4 separate regions of the Homo sapiens genome follow, and regions 1, 2 and 3 are each linked to region 4. Evidence: promoter capture Hi-C in human tissues and cell types (Jung and others, 2019). All regions are on one chromosome and are shown on one strand. The core of a region is centred on a gene start or on the middle of the fragment in contact, and the rest is flanking DNA. Distances in the headings are between cores, read along the strand shown.

What was found. The method cuts DNA at HindIII sites, captures the fragments that hold promoters and counts their contacts. A contact is called where the count stands out against the background at its distance.
Region 1: a fragment that was not itself captured here is called in contact with the fragment with the promoter of FERD3L in region 4 in 1 of the 25 tissues and cell types used here (neural progenitor cells).
Region 2: a contact is called between a fragment that was not itself captured here and the fragment with the promoter of FERD3L in region 4, in 3 of the 25 tissues and cell types used here (H1 embryonic stem cells, mesenchymal stem cells and mesendoderm cells).
Region 3: a fragment that was not itself captured here is called in contact with the fragment with the promoter of FERD3L in region 4 in 4 of the 25 tissues and cell types used here (H1 embryonic stem cells, IMR-90 fibroblasts, bladder and 1 more).

What each region holds. Positions count from the first base shown.
Region 1 is chr7:19,307,941-19,310,640 of GRCh38, forward strand. The region is part of intron 2 of LOC107986773 (a long non-coding RNA gene); the gene reads left to right. Among named protein-coding and RNA genes, the nearest start is that of FERD3L, 160 kb to the left of the region's middle. The HindIII fragment of the contact is 3,682 bases long and covers 1-2,700 here.
Region 2 is chr7:19,288,144-19,290,843 of GRCh38, forward strand. No RefSeq gene overlaps it. Among named protein-coding and RNA genes, the nearest start is that of FERD3L, 140 kb to the left of the region's middle. The HindIII fragment of the contact is 4,755 bases long and covers 1-2,700 here.
Region 3 is chr7:19,375,950-19,378,649 of GRCh38, forward strand. No RefSeq gene overlaps it. Among named protein-coding and RNA genes, the nearest start is that of FERD3L, 230 kb to the left of the region's middle. The HindIII fragment of the contact is 3,576 bases long and covers 1-2,700 here.
Region 4 is chr7:19,144,138-19,146,837 of GRCh38, forward strand. It overlaps FERD3L (Fer3 like bHLH transcription factor), which reads right to left and starts at 1,284. Exons shown (of 1, transcript NM_152898.2): 1 at 645-1,284. The coding sequence starts at 1,225. The coding sequence ends at 725. RefSeq lists enhancers at 17-1,216, 1,682-2,330. The HindIII fragment of the contact is 11,409 bases long and covers 1-2,700 here.

The DNA.
Region 1 (2,700 bases), core at 167-2,666, 160 kb after region 4:
AGACAGAATTTAAGAATAGAGATTTAAGATTTAATAGAGATTTAATAATTTAAATAGAGATTTAAATTATTCACTTCTTAAATAGAGATTTAAGATTTAATAGAGATTTAATAATTTAAATAGAGATTTAAATTATTCACTTCTCAGAAGTTGCTCTTTTAGAAAATGCTTTCTGAAAATCACGATATAATGTGGCTCACCTAGAAAAAAATCAGGATTTACAAAACTGTCAGAAGCCTACATCAATTTTTTGATTAAATGCATATAACATAAAAATTAAAGAAACTTATCACTATACAGTGACCAAAATACTACAGTACTATACAATCATTTTCATATTAGATTTCATATAGGTTGGTACAAAAGTAATAGCCGTTTTGACCATTACTTTTTTTTTTTTTTTAAGACGGAGTTTGGCTCTGTTGACCAGGCTAGAGTGCAGTGGCATGATCTCTGCTCACTGCAGCCTCCGCCTCCCGGGTTCAAGCAATTCTCCTGCCTCAGCCTCTGAGTAGCTGGGACTACGGGCGCCCGCCACCACGCCCGGCTAATTTTTGTATTTTTAGTAGAGACGGGGTTTCACCATGTGAGTCAGGGTGGTCTCAGTCTCCTGACCTCATGATCCACTGGCCTCCAGAAGTGCTGGGGTTACAGGCATGAGCCACTGTGCCCGGCCTGGCCATTACTTTTAATGGTAAAGACAGCAATTACTTTTGCATCACCTAATAAATATGCTAGTTAACAGTGGTGAGAGAAATAATATAAGTTGTTTTATGAAATCCCATAGTATGGTGCCATATCTTTTCCCAAGCATATTTTTATTTATGCCTGGGTAAATTCCTATTACTTATTGCTGTCCTTTTTTTTCATGTATTAACCTTGCTTCTCATATTCTCATGTTCCCTTACACTCTTACTCTTAGTTATATTTTATGTTTTTGGAAATTCACTTTGTAACCAGATTTGTGTATGTAACTACACATTTAATGTCATGCATATTTAATACTATGCACTCCTAATAACATCTACCATATAAAGAACATGCATTTTAAGAAGTATGTTGGCAATAGCCACAAAGCTTTTATTTTGTGTGTGTGTGTGTGTGTGTGTGTGTGTGTGTGTGTGTGTGCGTAGGGGGTCCTGATCTGTAAATGTGTTCTCAAATACAATAATCTTAATATTGTTGGATTTTTTTTAAAGGGATACAATGTGAATAGGTAATACTTATTGAGCACTGGGCTAAGCCATACACACACACACACACACACACACACACACACATACACACACACACAGAATGTCATTTTTGCTCATATAATAACCTTATAAAGATGGAAACTATTTTTATCCTCATTTTAATATTAAAAAAGAGGTTTGAAAGCAAGTAACTAGAATGAAGGTACATTGTAAATGGTGGGACTGTAATTGAAAATCTTGAGCTCCACATGTTTGTAAAACAGAATTCTCAGAAAACAAGATAATTTTCATGTATACTGGCATTAGCTATAGTGCTTATGGCCTACAATTTTGGTTAGTTCTGCCACTGAGAGATTAATTTTCTGCCATTGGATATTCCTCAATACCAGTTGTCTGTCATATTTCCCAATTTGCTGAAGGCTAACAATGAGGGTGTGTGTGTGTGTGTGTGTGTGTGTGTGTGTGTGTGCAGGACAGGTAAGGGAGAAAGGATTTCATTGAGAGTGAGTTCTTCACCAGACTGAAGGATGCTGAATACTGCTGAGTATGATCTCCTTGCCCTGGTAATAATTCCTTTAGGGTTCTAGGGAAGAAGTATATGGCACCAGAAACAAGCCTTTGGGTTTAGATCATTGTTCAGTTTGATAACTTGGGAGTTGGGACTTCTGACTGTGATTAACTGGTTGGTGCACACTGAAGTCTATCTTTAGCATGCTTCAGCATCTCTCTGATGGCATTAGTGGATGGGGAATTTACATTTTTGTTTTCAAAAGAGAATAACCAAATGCCTAGAATTAGTACTAGCATAGCAAAATTTTAGTGGTGAGTACCTGTAAATATTTTCTTGAAAAATCAATTATTTCATAACAGTGGTAGCAAAATTAATTTGTCAAATATTTATGACAAAGTCTGTGCCAATTCCTGCCTCATTTTTACCTTGATCAGGAACCTCCAATGCTGCTAATGCTCTGTTTTCACTGAAGGAAACACCTGTTGCCTAAAATATTAATAACTCAGGTCAATTTTAAGACTGTGAAACCTCGGAGTCTATTCCATGGTTATTTTTATTTGTTTAACTATTACAAATAGGCACTTCATCTTTGAAATGAGAACAAGTTGTATAACTTTATTAATGAAAACTAGAAGTCTGAACTATTCTACTACTTGGCTATGTAAGTGGTTTGTGATAACCAATACATCTTCCTTTCATGAAATGTTCTAGAGATACATTTTCCTGACGTCCTTAGTCAGTTGATAGCTTATCTCTGCAGGAGCCATGATTTAGTTTTGCAGATCTAGTAGAAGGAAGAATTTCCAATATATTTTTTTAAAAACTAAAATTTGATTTCCATCTGGGCAATATGGATTCTCCATTCACAAGGCTGTAAAATATCTATGAATAAAAATTTTCTAGCATGAGATCTCTATTGAGGAGGAGTCTGGGATAAAGACTATTGGATCAGAAGTCAACAGCTTTAAATTCTTGTTCTTGTGTAATGTCGAA
Region 2 (2,700 bases), core at 134-2,633, 140 kb after region 4:
TTTTAGTAACCAGTATACACAATCTGTAATTTTACAATTGTGTGATCATTTGATACTAGGATGAGGGAGAACCCAAATACTAAAAGGTTGACCTGAAATGGTACATGGAGATATATAGAATATAGATGTGACCTGCTAATACATAGCCCCCAAATAAGCAATGAAAGTCTTCATGGTCATCTGAATTTTCCCTAATAGTAATGAGAGAAGCTATTTGAGCTATTTGGTACTTTCAAAATGTATTCTTTGAAGGCAACAGGATGTGTCTAGAACTAGGCTTCCATAGTAATCATAGGCTTTTGGGCCTAATGATTCAAAGACTGTGTAAACCAGCATAGATAATTTCTAGGAAATGATTTAGAATTCGTGTCAGAAAATATGATTGAAGAGGTTGGACACATTTGGATTCCTATTAGTCATTTGATGATTTTGTCTTTGTGTTTTTTTTTGTGCTGTAACAAAGCACCATCACTGCATTGTTGAGATGATCAAAAGAGTTTACTAGAGATAACATGCTTTGAAAAAATAAGCATAAAATTAGCATTTCACATTTAAAATAATATTCAACTTCTCATAAATCATTACAAGTCACTTTTTGTGGCTATAAACCCATTAATATGTTGAAGAAAAGCAAAACTATCCTTTCTTACCTTCCAATGTTTTAATAATTAGTGATGTACTATGGTTGGGAATAGAAACAAATATATGAATGTAAATAAGGATGTGTATAGATATGGCCTGTTCAGTTTGTAAAACTGATCGTGTAGAAAATCTAGAATAATGAAGCTTAAAATTCTGTAGCTAACACTATAAAATGTAACCATGCAATCTAGTTTGTTTTGCGTCCTAAAGAAGGAATAGTTACCTTCTTTCTTTTCTAAGGTTTGATCCTCCTGCCTGGACAAAAGATACTTATGCCATATAATTGACCATTTGTTTTACATTTAAGTGGACAGATATTTTCTTTTATTTTCTCTTTATAACCAGGATCACAGACATTATGGAAAGCCTCTTTGAAGTTTTATGCTAAGTACTTTCTGCTAAAGCTTTCATTTTCCTCTGCTTTGCTCACTACCTTTCCATTATGATAAATCACTAAAATCACAAAGCTTATCCTTACAGCAAGCCTATCACTCCTTTCTTTCCTTGTTTAAATTTTCATTTCTTCTATAAAGTTTTGATGACTTAGATAACTTAGACTACACATGGCACTTCTAAGAGTAATGTTATACATACAGTAGTTTTTCATCCATTAAACATGGATTTCCCCTTCTAAAGCATGTCACATGATAATCACATGGTAATTGTAAAATATATGTTAAATACTACTGAAATGAAAGTAAAAAGAATCAGACCATTTTAAATCTATCACCTTTCTACTTTGTCACAGCATCCATCAGTTTTCTTACTTACCATAAGAAAATGTGAATTGAATTTGCTTTCTAAAAGTGCATGTGTTCTTTCCACTGTTATTTAATGGAAATTTTGCATAACTTTTTGTTTCTTATAGAAAATATAATCAATAATCAGTGAATGAATAGTGTACATGTCTCAAAAAGAAGGTCTATAAATCTTTATTATAAAATTCTGAAAAGAAGTAAGAAGTCGGAACTTACTATTTTAGTTTCATATTAGACAATTGCAAAATCATTATAAAGTGAACCAAATTTATTACTTCATTTAAAATAAAATTACATATTGCCCCCTTATAAACTGTTGAACAATAAGGCTTTAAAAAGTAATGTAACTATCTAACTGCTATTATTACAATTACTTTTCATTTTCTGAGAAATTTGTCTATAATTATAGTTTATAAAGTATTGAATTCTGTGGTAGAAAATGAAAAAAACACATTTTATCTTCTGAGTATAAATAATACATTATATTAAACTGATATAAAGAAACATTTCACAAATTTTTTAAGAATTTTCTTTGAACTAGATTAAAGAGACAGTTATTTCTGAATTGCAGTCTCTCAAGTTGCTAAGTCAATTTTCCAAGGTATAAATGTGATACAAAGAGGAGCCTCCTGCCTCTGTAGGCTCTTTGTTGGCAGAAACAATATTTTATTTATCTCTGTGTCCTCAGCATCCAGTATCCTGAAATATGGTGGTTGCTCAGTAAATTCCTCATGACTGAGTGCCTGTATATCTTCAGGGTATCCAGGAGAATACTCAATTGTGGTTATTCTTTCCAGTGCAGTTGCTTTTTCCTTAGGGAAGATATCTATTTTGTGGAGCCTACATCACAAAATAGATACATGTGAATATTAGAGTAGATATATTTGGTTATGTTCAGACCTGTAGTGGTTTATCCGTTCTATCATATTTTTCTAATTGTTTTCAGATCAAAACGAATGTAGTAAAAAGGTACATGGACCTATAAAACATCACTTTTTAGAAAAGTAAGATTATTATTAATCTAATAAAATGATGAGTTCAGTAGTTTTGTCAATTAGAACGAAATAAATCTGATGCCCAATATGATTTCCCAACTCCCCAGATAATTAGATTAATCCCACATCTTGATTCATGATATGCTATCATTGTTCACCCATGAATGGCCATATTTTAAAAAACGTAATTAACTAGCCATAGAATGAACATTAGTGAACTTACCACCTGGACAAAGAACTAGATGAACGGTAACTAATATTTGCCTGGTTTTGCTCCTCTATTGTACCTCTCACAGAATTATCTT
Region 3 (2,700 bases), core at 86-2,585, 230 kb after region 4:
CTGAAGTGTGTTCCTGGCCAACAGACAAAATGGACTTCCCCACGGCTAACAGAAGTGCTTAAAGTTGAAACAGAACTATGCAGCCATAGCTGGGTGAGGGAGCCATCAGTAACTCTATGTTCTCAGAAAGATGTTGTGAAAGTATCATGAAACCTTCTTTTCTACAATCAAGCAAAACCAGTTCCTGTTGTCAGGCCTGGATCAGAAAGCCAGAACCTCACCCAGCTTCATGCCATCACATGCCCTCTTGCACACCCACCACTGCCCTTTGAAAGAAACATAAGACAGAGACTTCTGGTTTGGGGCTTTGAAACAAACCAGTCAGCTCTTACTTGCCCCAGCCAATCAAGGCTCAGCTGCACTGACCAATCAGAACTAAGGAAGATTCAATCTTTCATTTGCATAAACAGATCTGATTGGCAACCCAGGCAGGAGTTTCTTGCTATAAAACTTGAACCCTCTCCTTGTTTTCTAGAATGTGCACCTTCATTTTTACACTAGAGGCTGCATCTCCCAGGATTTGGTTCACTGAAACAAAATCTCTTTCCTTCAAATTCCTTGTCAGAGAATGTTTACAAACTCTTTTGCCACAAGTCGTCTCTATTTCTTTATCATTATTTTAATGTGATGGAAGTTATCCATCCTTCATGTGATATATATGATATATTTTGAGAAGATGAAAAGGTCCAAGGCATAATTTTCATTGACTTCCTCTTTCTGGAAGTCCTTCCTGCCACTTCTGTACGTCCATAGTTCTGCGTTTTTACTTTTCTGGTGTACTTCTCTCTTTTAGTTGTGTGGTGTAGTTATGGCTGTGCTTGTTTTATCTTCTTTCCCTGAGTGCACATTCTGATAAGATAGCAAGAGCAATGATTCATCACTTACCACCCTTTTTAGTCCTAGTCTGGTGCTCAGTGTGTTGTAGAAATTCAGTGACAATTATTGAAATAAATCTTTAACATGAAATATTATTTCAGTATAATGCAACTTTTGCTTAATGTCTCTCAATATTCAATATTGTTTGAATGCTACCCAAATCACATAACTCTAAGTTATCAGAACAGAAGGTGCATAGAGTAAACATCTCTCTGTGGGTACATGCCTTTTGTTTTTAGTGTGGATTATATTTTTTCCTCAGGATTTTGGAAAGCCCAAAGTGGCTTCTAAATATTTTAAACATAGAGACATCTCTAGCTTTCTGAATGATTACAAAAGCCATTTCTACTTAAATTAAGCCTGCTTCACGTGTTATAGTTTTATGTAATTTCTTCAGCTTTTTAATAGTCTATACAGTTTAGTAACTGCACGATGTTTAAGGTGTTTGGATGCCATTTGGAAGCTTCATAAAAGGAGGTCACTTAGAGTTCAGAAATGTTTAGAAAAGAGAAAAAAAATCTTAGGAAGGTTCTCTTTGGAGTTAGCAATTCAGAACCTCTTCTTTGTTTGCATTCAAGATACAATATGCCAAGCTAAGATTATCTGTTTTGAATCAGGAAAAAAGCAAAGTTAAAAACAGAGCAAAGTAAGTTGTGTCATATATAAGGGAATATCTCAAGTCTCTTGTGCTTGCGTTGTTTAAAAAAATTGTATTTGTAAATTTATGGTATTTTAAAGTGATGCGCTTACTGAGTTTGAAAAAGAAATTTATAAAAAGAATAACAGAAAGTTTCATTGCTCTGCCTAAAGTTATGGCTCATAATTTTGGAACATATGCTCTAAGCTGTGTCATGAAGTGGTGGGGGGGGGGGGTGCTTCTGAGTCATCCCCCTTCTTGTTTAGCCTAGAGAGAAGTAGAATTTAAGATAGCCATTTATGCATCTACACATACTTAAAATGTAGCCCGCCAGAGCAGAGGATCCATTGAGAGAAAAAGACAGGGGAGACGGAAGTGACCAATAGCTAGCTTCTGGCTGGATAAAAAATTGACACATAACTTCTGGCTTCCCCTCAAGTGGAGCTTTTGCGAGGGATTTATAGGTCAGATAGCTCAGCAGTTTGAGCTTGTTGCCCACCGTACCTTAACAAAGCTTGTGCGTGTTTGTACAGCTGGACTGGTAGCTGTGGGAGTCCCGAGAATCCCACAGCCCTCCCGTCCCTGTACCTCCCCTTCGCCATTTACCAGCACACAAATACACACAGAATGAAACTGTCTGACTAGCAGGTTAAAGGCCCACAATTCAAGCCCTGTTTATTTTCTTTCCTTGATTTCCTGCTGCTACAGTGAGTAAATGATATTTTTCCCCCTTGCTTTTTTTTTAACCTGTTTGTCTATCAATGTCTGCTAGGGAATGGAAGAAATACTAACATTTTAAAATAGTTTATGTGACACACGCTTTGGTGTACTATTTTAAACTTCTCTCCCTCTCTCCCCATCTTTCTCTGAAGCTCTCTCCACTCTCATCTTTTTCTTATATTTCGGGGAGAAGGAATTTACCCAAAGGAAGGAAAGAAAAACATCCCCGAAGTCTTCAAGTGTAACTTCACCCTGAGGAAGGGTGTTATTTTAATTACTGCTGAACCCATTCTGTAGGGAGGCCTGTAAATGCTTGATGCAGCTAGTAGAGTGGCAGTTAATATGCCTTTTGAATCAGTGCCACAAACTACAAAGACTGCCATCTGGGGAGGTATTACATTTTTAAGAAAAAAATAGCTGAGACTTTTCTTTAAATGAGCTTGTAAATTCCAGTCAATCTTAAGTTC
Region 4 (2,700 bases), core at 34-2,533:
AGGGAGAAAGGAAGAGAGAGGGCTTGCGCGCGGGAGAGAGGAAGGGACGGGAGGGAGAGGGAATGGAAGACAGGAAGGGTGTCCCTTCTCAGAGGTCGCACTTTGTCAGCAGTTCCTCTCGACTGCTCTGCCTTCCATTTTTCCTTTCCTCAGTTCCTGGACAAGCCTCGGAGGACCAGGCAGAACCCTCTGGCTAGCAGAAAAGCTCGCACCCCCGCACCCTTGCGGCGTCTGCTTCAGACCCTCCACGCAGGCGCCCGCTGGAGCGCCTGCTGGGGATGGCGTACCACCGACCCTTCAGGCTTTTTAAAAACGTAAGAATTTCTACTTTATTATCTCTATGAAAAAAAAAATGTAAAGAAGAGAGGTTAGATTTTATAGAAGCTCCAAAGTCTGCCATTTGCGAGGAGGGTTCACTTCCCACCCACCCAGCCCACGGAAGCTCTTAGGAGCAGCCTGAACGGCCCCGACTCAGCCTCACGCTCTCTGACTTCCCCGCTCGCCCCTGACCCCGACTTCACTTAGGGCGGTCGCGTAGATATGAACTCTACAGCAGCCACTCTGCTCAGCGCATGTGGGGATCTTACAATCTCGACCCCGACCTCCAGAAGACCAGACGTTCTGTCTTGGGGCCTCCCTCCCGGCCCTTTAGCCTCACCCAGTGCCCGGTCCTGACACACCCCAGCACTACCAGACGAGGAAGGGCAGACTCTCCACACCAGGCTCAGCCGCTTTCCTTCTTCTCACAGCTCTCCAAGAGCTCGGTCATGAAGGAGATATAGACGATGGCCAGGCGGAGGGTCTCGATCCGGGACAGCCTTTTCTCGTAAGCAAACGTGGGCACCTTCCTCCGCAGCTGGTCAAAGGCCTCGTTGAGGTTGAACATCCGCTTCCTTTCGCGGATGTTGGCGGCCTGGCGCTGGGCGTAGGTGATCACCCTTTTCCTCTTGGGGCGGCCTAATAGGGAGACACCTCTTCCGCGCTCCTCTTCCTCCTCCTCTTCTCCGTCCCCCTGGTCCACTTCGCACTCCTCTTCTTCTGGGTCCCCCTCTTCAAACCGCGCCATCCTCCTGGGTCTTCCCTCTCGGAGCGCAAGGGCTGGGTCCCCCAAGGAGACCCCGGGTGCGAAGTCGCAGAGGAGAGGGCGTCTCGGGGAGGCCAGGGACAGGTCTGCGACGAAGTCCAGCACCGTAGTGTCCACGCAGCTCTCCGGATAGGCCGCCATCGCTTCGGCTTGGCCCTGCCTCTCATCGGTTTTCCGCAGGGAGGGGCGAGGTTGCTGGTGGGGATTCTTAACAGCCTTGAATCTGATGGGGCACCATCACCGAAAGGCCAGGGAACATTAAATATTTATAACCAAGCTGATAACAGGATTAGTCGCACCGATAAGGAATGCTCTGACAACGTCCCTTCTCTCGAAGCTTATGGAAGATGACAAGCTTGAGCACGCATGGAAGACTCAAAGGGACAGGGCTCCAGTTCTGAGATCCTTTTCTCTGCGCCACCCGGGACAGTTCCTTGTTGGCAACAACCCCCAGCTCTTACCTGCTGTGCTTTTTGTGTCTGTCTTCACCCCTGCAGCCAACTAATGTTCTCCAGGCTCCTTATCTCGTGTAGTTCTTTAATTTCGTGTTGGATTTTCAAAGCGAGGATGTTTTCCACCGCGATGGCTTCTCCTTGACTTCAGGGTAGGAGTCTTGAATCTTGCCACCATCTGCCAATGGATGTGGAGCAAGTGCATGTGCTTTTAATGATGTCCTGAAGAGGGGCCCTGCCTGCCTGGCATCAAGGGGAGCTGTTTGTCTGGTATCCCAGTGCAGCGGCTGCTGAAAGGCAAGACCTTCAATTAGCTTAAGTAAGCATGGCAGGGGGACCGAGAGTGCATTCCCCAGAGTCGCTGTTGGAACCGGCTTTCTTTTCTTTCCAGGGCATCGCAAACAGCTCTCCTGCCACGTTACAAACCCTGACTTCTAAAGTCTGTTTGGATGCAATCAGCGTAACAATTGAGATACTTGACTTTCCTTTCCCTACCTTTACCTCCTACTCATATAAAATAGAGGATTTTATTCCAAGAGGAAAAGTTATGATGGCAATAAAATGAGAAATTTAAGCTCAGGATATTTTCTATGCTCGGGCTTTGCTGTATACTTTTCAGTGTGGGGGACAAAGCAAACTCTCCTCACAAACAAAACCACTTCAAGCTCTTTTCAGAAATGCGATTTGCCCTTGATAAGCCAAAGAGTCAATCAGCTCACCCTCTGCTGAGGAGTCTTCGGACTTTTAAATTGCGGATCGAGTATTTGTTCCCGAACAAAGAAAAAAACCTAACACTTCCATCTGGCGTATTTTCCTCATTGATTTGTATTGTCCTACAGTAAGACTTAAGTGCAGAAACAATGATTTATTGAAATATATTTAAGGGAGTTTTTGGCTATCGTTAGATCGTTATTTTTGAGAAAAGAAAGAGATTTTAAATTTGGCATAAGAAAAATAAGAGATTACTCATTTTATATTATCTCGAGTATCCCAAATATTTTAACAAAAAGGTTCTTTTTCTTTGTTTGCCAATAACTATATTTACTTAATTATTCAGTACTGTGTAAAGATTTATTTAAAAGACCCATTGTGTCAAAGTGACAGATTAGAAGATAATTTTAAAGGTAGATTGGAAGAAATAGCCTAAAAAGATGAATGTAGAAA